Linked DNA regions of Homo sapiens: region 2 is linked to region 1. Evidence: promoter capture Hi-C in 16 types of primary human blood cells and fetal thymus (Javierre and others, 2016). All regions are on one chromosome and are shown on one strand. Each heading gives the region's core, a stretch centred on a gene start or on the middle of the fragment in contact. The rest is flanking DNA. Distances are from core to core; before and after follow the strand shown. Region 1 holds the start of CDK14 (cyclin dependent kinase 14). Region 2 holds the start of SRI (sorcin).

Evidence for each region. The method cuts DNA at HindIII sites, captures the fragments that hold promoters and counts their contacts. A CHiCAGO score of 5 or more calls a contact.
Region 2: the fragment with the promoter of SRI here is called in contact with the fragment with the promoter of CDK14 in region 1 in 1 of 17 cell types (neutrophils); the score reaches 5.1 in neutrophils.

The regions. Positions count from the first base shown.
Region 1 is chr7:90,594,023-90,597,757 of GRCh38, forward strand. CDK14 (cyclin dependent kinase 14) reads left to right here and starts at 2,299. Exons shown (of 15, transcript NM_001287135.2): 1 at 2,299-2,696. The coding sequence starts at 2,606. RefSeq lists silencers at 1,907-2,106, 2,127-2,436, 2,627-2,826, 2,887-2,936. The HindIII fragment of the contact is 4,165 bases long and covers 1,544-3,735 here.
Region 2 is chr7:88,218,708-88,222,432 of GRCh38, forward strand. It overlaps SRI (sorcin), which reads right to left and starts at 1,331. Exons shown (of 8, transcript NM_003130.4): 1 at 1,269-1,331; 2 at 152-235. The coding sequence starts at 1,319. It overlaps SRI-AS1 (SRI antisense RNA 1), which reads left to right. Exons shown (of 3, transcript NR_120517.1): 2 at 42-517. RefSeq lists silencers at 317-406, 1,054-1,553. The HindIII fragment of the contact is 22,346 bases long and covers 1-3,725 here.

The sequences.
Region 1 (3,735 bases), core at 1,049-3,548:
TTTTCCAGAAATATTCTATGCATATAGGAACACATAGATGTGTATACATTTTTTCCACAAATGGTTTAAAATATTAAACATGCTTTTCTCCCAAATTAGCCTGTACATATTCACACATCAGTACACACTGATCTCATTTAAGAAAATTGGTGCATACCTTTGTATGCTTTTACCATAATTTAAGAAGAAGCTGACTACTTTTTTTAAGTCAGAAATACTGGGAAGGGGAAGAGCATGGTGGTGGTGCACGCCTGTAATCCCAGAACTTTGGGAGGTCAAGGCGGGCGGATTGCTTGAGCTCAAGAGTAGGAGACCAGCGTCGGTAACATGATGAAACCCCGTTTCTACAAAAATTAGCCAGGCGTGGTGGTGCGCACCCGTAGTCCCAGCTATTTAGGAGGCTGAGGTGGGAGGATGGCTTGAGCCCAGGAGAGAAGGTTGCAGTCAGCCGAGATGGCGCCACTGCACTCCAGCCTGGGCGACAGGCCCTGTCTCGGAAAAAAAAAAAAAAATACTGCGAAGGTAAAATAAACATATATTTAACATATTATATATTTGAAACAGCCATTGTCACAGTGGATAACAGTCACAGGTGTATAATAGTGAAAGTTCGTTAAATTAATATTTCTTCGTGTTTGTTGACTCGTACAACCCATTAGTGTTTTGATTGGTTGCATTTGTCTTTTCATTCATAACTGCTGAAAACTTTCTCCCTAACTAACCTGAGGAAGTGGTAAAAGTCAAACTTTTTTCCGGTATGAGGCCACCCTTGGTGCTGTCTGTAATTATCTAGACATGGCAGCCAGGATCCAACAGCTTTGCGTTTTAACTCATATGGTCTTTCCTGGCGAATTCCTTGCCCCCCTCTGCTCCCCACTTAGCTTGACTTCCTGTCTTTTATCATCCGCAATCTATCAAGATCCTACAATGTGCTCAGTGTAGGGCGGAACAAATCACTGTTTTACCTCACAATTTAAGGAAGGCAGGGGGCTAGTTTTTAAGATAAAAATCTTTTAACAAAACATAAACTCCCCAAAATTTCCTACAAGCCAAACAGCATTGTCACACCCTCACAAGCTCTTATTACTTACACAGCCAAATGACTCAAGATTACTAACGTTTCTATTCATAAGGAGTTTGCTGGCCTCAGATCAACACAATCAAGCCCTCCCCCACCTTCCTTCTCTCTCCCCTGGGAGACTGACGTTTGGAACTCACGCCGCACCAGGTTTTTTCAGAATGAAGACGATGTGTGTTCGCTGCTGGAACTGTTTGTCCTGGGATTTTATAAACACCTCCCCCACTCCTTTTTAAAGTTCTGTTTTTGAGGTGGGGGAAAAGGAGGTCGGAATCTGTTTAGCCTTTAAATCTCCCAATTCAGAAATATATTCTAAGAATTTAATAGAAAAAGACCAAGGGCTGTGTCTGCTATTTACTGCAGAACTGGGTATTCCTATCAGAAATCACCTACATGTGTCACCAAGATCAGAGACAAGGATGAGGGAAACAGCATGATCCCTGCCTTCTGGAGGGTTACAGTTGAAGCTTCCGCTGCTTCTGCACTTGACCTCAAAACAAACAAAAAACCCACCGCAAACAACAACAAAAAAATCCAGGCCCACCTTTCCCCTTGGATCTTTCACTTGACAGCTTTCTCGGCCCAAAATAAGGCACCCTACATCTGAATGCATCCCTAAGGCCTTACCGCACCCAGTCCAGGAGGCAGTCCTGGCAGCTGCCCTCCACCGAACTCCGCGCTTTTTCACACACGCTCGTGGAAGGAGAAAACCGCTCAAACAACTGGACTCGGCCCGTTTCCTTTCGGTAACCTCCCCACAGCCCAACACGCTGTCCCCAGACGCTGCCCGCTCCCACCCCGGTCCCTTCGTGATCCTCCCGCGCGCGGGCGGGGCGGGGGAGGAGCGCGGGGGCGGCCGGGAGGGGCGCGGCCGGGAGGGGGCGCCGCCGGGGCGCGAGCCAGACACAGAGGGCCGCGGAGGACGCGGGAGGCGAGCGGGGAGCCGAGGTCGTGCTAGGATCCCGCGCCCAGGGGCCTTCGTCGAGGGAGGGGCGTGGCGGCGGCAGCAGGAGGGCAGCAGGAGCTGTCAGGCTGGCGGTTCCGCGCCGCGGCTCCTTCTGCGCTGCGCCCGCAACTCTGGGCTGAGAACTTCTCCCGCCGGCCCACTCGCCCTCGCCCCGCGCACTCGGCGCCAGGCGACTCCCGCACCTTGTACCCGGCCCGCCCCGCCTCCTCCTTCGGCCGCACCACTCCCCCTGCCGGCCGCGCTTCTCTCCGTTACAAAGGAGGGAAAATGAGCCGGGCGGCGGCGGCGCGGCGCGGGGCCACCACGGCGGCGGCGAGCGCGGCCGCCCCCGGCACCACGTAAACCGCCCCCGCCCGCCCAGCTGCGGCCCAGGCCGGAGCGGAGCCTGCCGTCCTCCGCCTGCCTGCTGCTCGCCTCCCTAGACCTGCGCGTCGCTTCCCGGCCCGCCGAGGAGGTGGTGGAGGAGGAGGCGCCGCTTTCCCCGCGGCGCGCGCCCTCGCCGTTGTCTGAGCTGTGCCTGGACCAGTTTGGGGAAGTTGTCGGGGCTCCGCGTCGCCCAGATGTGTGACCTCATTGAGCCGCAGCCGGCCGAGAAGATCGGCAAGATGAAGAAGTTGCGGAGAACTTTGTCGGAGAGTTTCAGTCGCATTGGTGAGTAGCGCGCTGCCCCCGGCCCCCCCAGCGCCCGCTCCCCTCGGCCTGCGCCCCCGCCGCGTTCCTGGCACCAGCCATGCAGCTGCCAGCGGGGCTGGCGTGGGGTGCGTTGTAGGCGGGGATCGAGGGCACAGTGCTAGGGACCCGGGGGAGGGCAAGGACGTAAAGGAAAGAGACCCCTCTTCCTCAGGATCTGGGGGTTCATTTGTAGATTCTCTCAAGCCTACAATATGGGTTCTCCCCTCCTCCGCCACTAGTGCTCGCCCTTTCGCGCGCGTGGGGGACGGGCGAGGGGACCCCTCGGCCCCCACCGCGCAAGGGGCTGCGCGGCTGCTTGGGCCACTTGTTATTTTTTGCGCACAGGCTTGGATATTGGGCGTTTAGTCAGTAATTTAGCTTTGGAAATTGGTGAAACGTTAGACTGTGCCCTGGTATTGTTTAACGTATCCAACCTAAAGGGAAGTGGGACAGTTACCTTGGGACCTATTGTTCGGTACTTCGGGTCCTGGAAAGCGAGATTTGGGTGTTCAGTCTCGAGGTCTCTGAATCTTCCCGCTGCTGGAGAGAAATGCGCGCTGTGGAGTTGTCTGGACATTTAGGAATGTCTCTCGAACTTGTTCCATTTAATAGAGCTCAGGGGCTGTTGTCTTTAAACCAAACAACAAACCAACTGACCAACAGTGTTTAGGACAGTGACGAATAAATGCATGTCACAGGTTGTAATAGGGTGACAGCAGTATCACGTGGAATGGGTTTGTTAGATTTTGAGTACTGGGCATAGAAAACCCCTTTTAACCTGAAGAGTTAGCTGCCTCCCCTACTGTCACAACTTTCACTAATAACATGTAACTGCCCTGAGCAAGAGAATGCTATAGACACAAAAGATAACCCCTGCGAGTCCCTAGGAAGCTGCCTAGTCTTTGTTTCACTTGTTTTAAATGTCATCCATGTTAACGAAAGTGTTAATGGAAATTAAACATAAAGGTACTTAATTCCTTAAAATAAAACCCTGGGATGCACATGAGTGTTACAGATA
Region 2 (3,725 bases), core at 81-2,580, 2.4 Mb before region 1:
AAAAAACTAAAATAAGAAACAACTTTTTTTTTCTTTTGCAGAAGCAAAGGGACTCAGTACCACAGGAAGTTCGCTTTTCTGTGTCACTATATCAAAAGCTACCACAAATGCAGACAATAACGGCTCTTTAATATTAAAGGGAAAAGCTAACCTGTCCAGCTACAGCAGCAAAGTAACCATACAGCGGATCCTGAGTTTGTCCGGGAAACGCAGGCCCTCCGGGAGCCCCTCCATACTGTGAAACAGGAAACACATACACGTCATTCTGCCGAATCAAGTTTTCTTCTTTCACCACTGAGGGCTTTTGTGCAAGGCCAGACAACTGCCCGCCTGCCCGCCCTTCACAAGGCTCACCTCCCCACCACCGGGCACACTCTGCCAACACTCCACCCCTCTCTTCCATTCACACCCCGTAATTTAAAAACTGGCGACTTAGACCATAAAGAGTTGCTGTGAAAGTGATGTCTACATATGTAAAGCAACTTTTAAAATCCCTATTAACCTGAAGGTTACTGAGGTGAGTGCAAACTAGGTAAGCCAACGAATGGCAGGGCTTCAAATTCTCCTTTTGTTGTTACAGCATTTATGGTATTTTAAGAGCGTTTTATGAACGATGGAAGGCTGGAGTTGGTAACATTCTGAGACGGGTGTAGCCTAGGGAAGAGTAAGGTGTCCGGCCGGGCTGTATCTCGTGGGTGGCGAGGGAACATTGCCTGTCTCGGAAACAGTTCCCAAGACAACGCGCATCCCAGACGCCCGGCGAGGCTGCCTTCCTACAGGTCTTTTACTTCAGCAGGTTTTCCCTTTTTTTCCGTCCCCCTTCTCACTCGTTTTTTGTTTGTTTGTTTGTTTGTTTGTTTGTTTGTTTTTTAAAGGGAGGAAGGTATATCATTCTAGAATAAAATGACTGTTGTTGCTCTGGGAGGCAACCAAGAAGGCGGGGGTGGGGTGGGGTGGGGGTCAGCCAACACCCAATTAACACGATTTCACGCCGCGTATCCGAGAAGCCGCAGGGTGGGCTTCTAGGGTCCCAATCCACCCTCACCTTGGCCCCGCAGGGCCATCCAGGAGAAGGGACGGGGAAACGTGGGGAGAGGCCGAACCCCAGGGGCCTAGGGCGAGGCCGCGAGCGCAGGGAGAAGCCGAGGGCGGAAGGAGCCCGGGTAGCCGCCCAGCAGCGCCTCACCCCGCTGGCCGCAGCATCTCCAAGGTGGCCTCTTAGCGCCCCGGAGCCGCCTGGGCCGCGATCCCGCGCAGTCAGCACTTACCCCGCCTGGGTAGTACCCGCCGCCGGCGCCAGGATGCCCCGGGTACGCCATGCTGCAGACTGCGCCGCAGCCGCCCTCGCCCTGTGCGCCAGGCCTCTCCGCCCCCTGCCCCGCCCCGCCCTGCCGCTAGGGGGCCGCCCCAGAGCGCACCACGCGGGCGTGGGGGACGCGCTCCGCAGTCGTCTCCAGCTCTTGCCTGTGCGCGCGGCCGTGGCTCCCCTGCCTGCGCGCTTCTTCGTATCTTTGCCATTACGGCGCTAATGCAGTGCACGACTGAAGGTCCAGTGGCGGCCTACGACCTGCGAGGCAATTCACACCAGGGACTTTCCTCCCTCCAAAACTAATGGCACATTCCAACACCAATACACCACCCCAGGAATTCTTTTTTTTTTTTTTTCCTTCGGACTTGGCTATTATCTGGCACATTTCTTATTTTAAACAACTTTATTGGACAGGACGGAGCTATTATAAGCGGAGCGCACCATCGCGAGGCAGGGGCTGGATGCGTTAGGGCAAGCCTTAGGTGCCAGTGGGTGAAGGAGTCTTTGAAAGATGGAAATACGAAAGCGCCCTTGGAAAATAAGAATTAACTTGACGAACTGTGTGCAAGGGAGAGTTTGGCTTGCTGTTGGTTGCAGAGTTCACTGAACGACAACGGCGTATTTCCTTCCTAGGGGACAATTCCTTGCCTGTTTAAGCTGAGCGTGACTTGTGTCCTGAGTAGGACAGAGGGCATTTTCCGGGCAGGACAGACTCACACATATCGTTCTTAGGAAAATGAATTGTTTGAATTATCTGGATGATTCAGACAAAACAATCCATTTCCCTAAAAGTATTCAGCTACTTTTTATATAAGAAAAGTTTAGAACAAACTAATAGTGTACTGGTAAGTATTCAGGAAGATAAGAGATAGGAACTTCTATGTAGGTTATTCTTCTTTACTTCATATATTTTTCTATCTTCCAGTTGAATAGTCCGAAGCAATTCAGGCGTGAGCTTTTTGTTTTGTTTTGTGTAATTTCAATGACAGAAAATTGCTTGCCCTTCACTGTTAAGGACTAGACTTAATGATTTCCTGAATTTTAACGTATTGAGAAACGCATTAATAAGCAAGATTCACAGTATTTGTTGTGGAGGTTGCACAGAAACATTTAAAGGGTCATCAACATTTCACAAATATTGGAGCACCCGCCAATGTGGTACTGTGCTTTTTCGCTGTGGTGGACGGGCTTCCTCCATTCTAAATTCGTGGGCTATTGTCCTCATTCGGTTCATTGTTTTTCTCTTGTGTGTAACTTCCCTCGCAAGCCCTTTTGAAAACCAAAGTCCGAATTGTGAGAAAAATTCTAATAGTCCCTGTTGTGGCATAGCAAAGACACTGCATGTTGCCTGTTTTGTGTTTGATTCAGGAAGCAGGTTACTGTTTTCAATCATCAAGGTAGCAATCATCAAGGTAGATGAGACATCTAATGAGTCCCCTGGTCTCTCTTTGGAAGCCTGTTTCTTCAGAAAGAGGTAACCGACTATAAAGAGTAGATGTCAGGGCCGAACTCGATGTTGAGTACAAGCTCAAGACTCAAGTTTGAAAGAAGTATAAAGCATATAAAATATTTTTAAGTACTGCAGAATTAGCTTCGTGGATAAACGGCTATACGAATTGGCATATCAGTTGTCCTTAGACATCTTCCCACTGCTTTACTGCTAAAGAATTGAATTTTTTTTTTAATTACACTTTAAGTTTTAGGGTACATGTGAACATTGTGCAGGTTGGTTACATATGTATACATGTGCCATGCTGGTGCGCTGCACCCACTAACTCGTCATCTAGCATTAGGTATATCTCCCAATGCTATCCCTCTCCCCTCCCCCCACCCCACCACAGTCCCTAGAGTGTGATATTCCCCTTCCTGTGTCCATGTGATCTCATCGTTCAGTTCCCACCTATGAGTGAGAATATGCGGTGTTTGGTTTTTTGGTCTTGCGATAGTTTACTGAGAATGATGATTTCCAATTTCATCCATGTCCCTACAAAGGACATGAACTCATCATTTTTTATGGCTGCATAGTATTCCATGGTGTATATGTGCCACATTTTCTTAATCCAGTCTATCATTGTTGGACATTTGGGTTGGTTCCAAGTCTTTGCTATTGTGAATAATGCCGCAATAAACATACGTGTGCATGTGTCTTTATAGCAGCATGATTTATAGTCCTTTGGGTATATACCCAGTAATGGGATGGCGGGTCAAATGGTAATTCTAGTTCTAGATCCCTGAGGAATCGCCACACTGACTTCCACAATGGTTGAACTAGTTTACAGTCCCACCAACAGTGTAAAAGTGTTCCTATTTCTCCACATCCTCTCCAGCACCTGTTGTTTCCTGACTTTTTAATGATTGCCATTCTAACTGGTGTGAGATGGTATCTCATAGTGGTTTTGATTTGCATTTCTCTGAT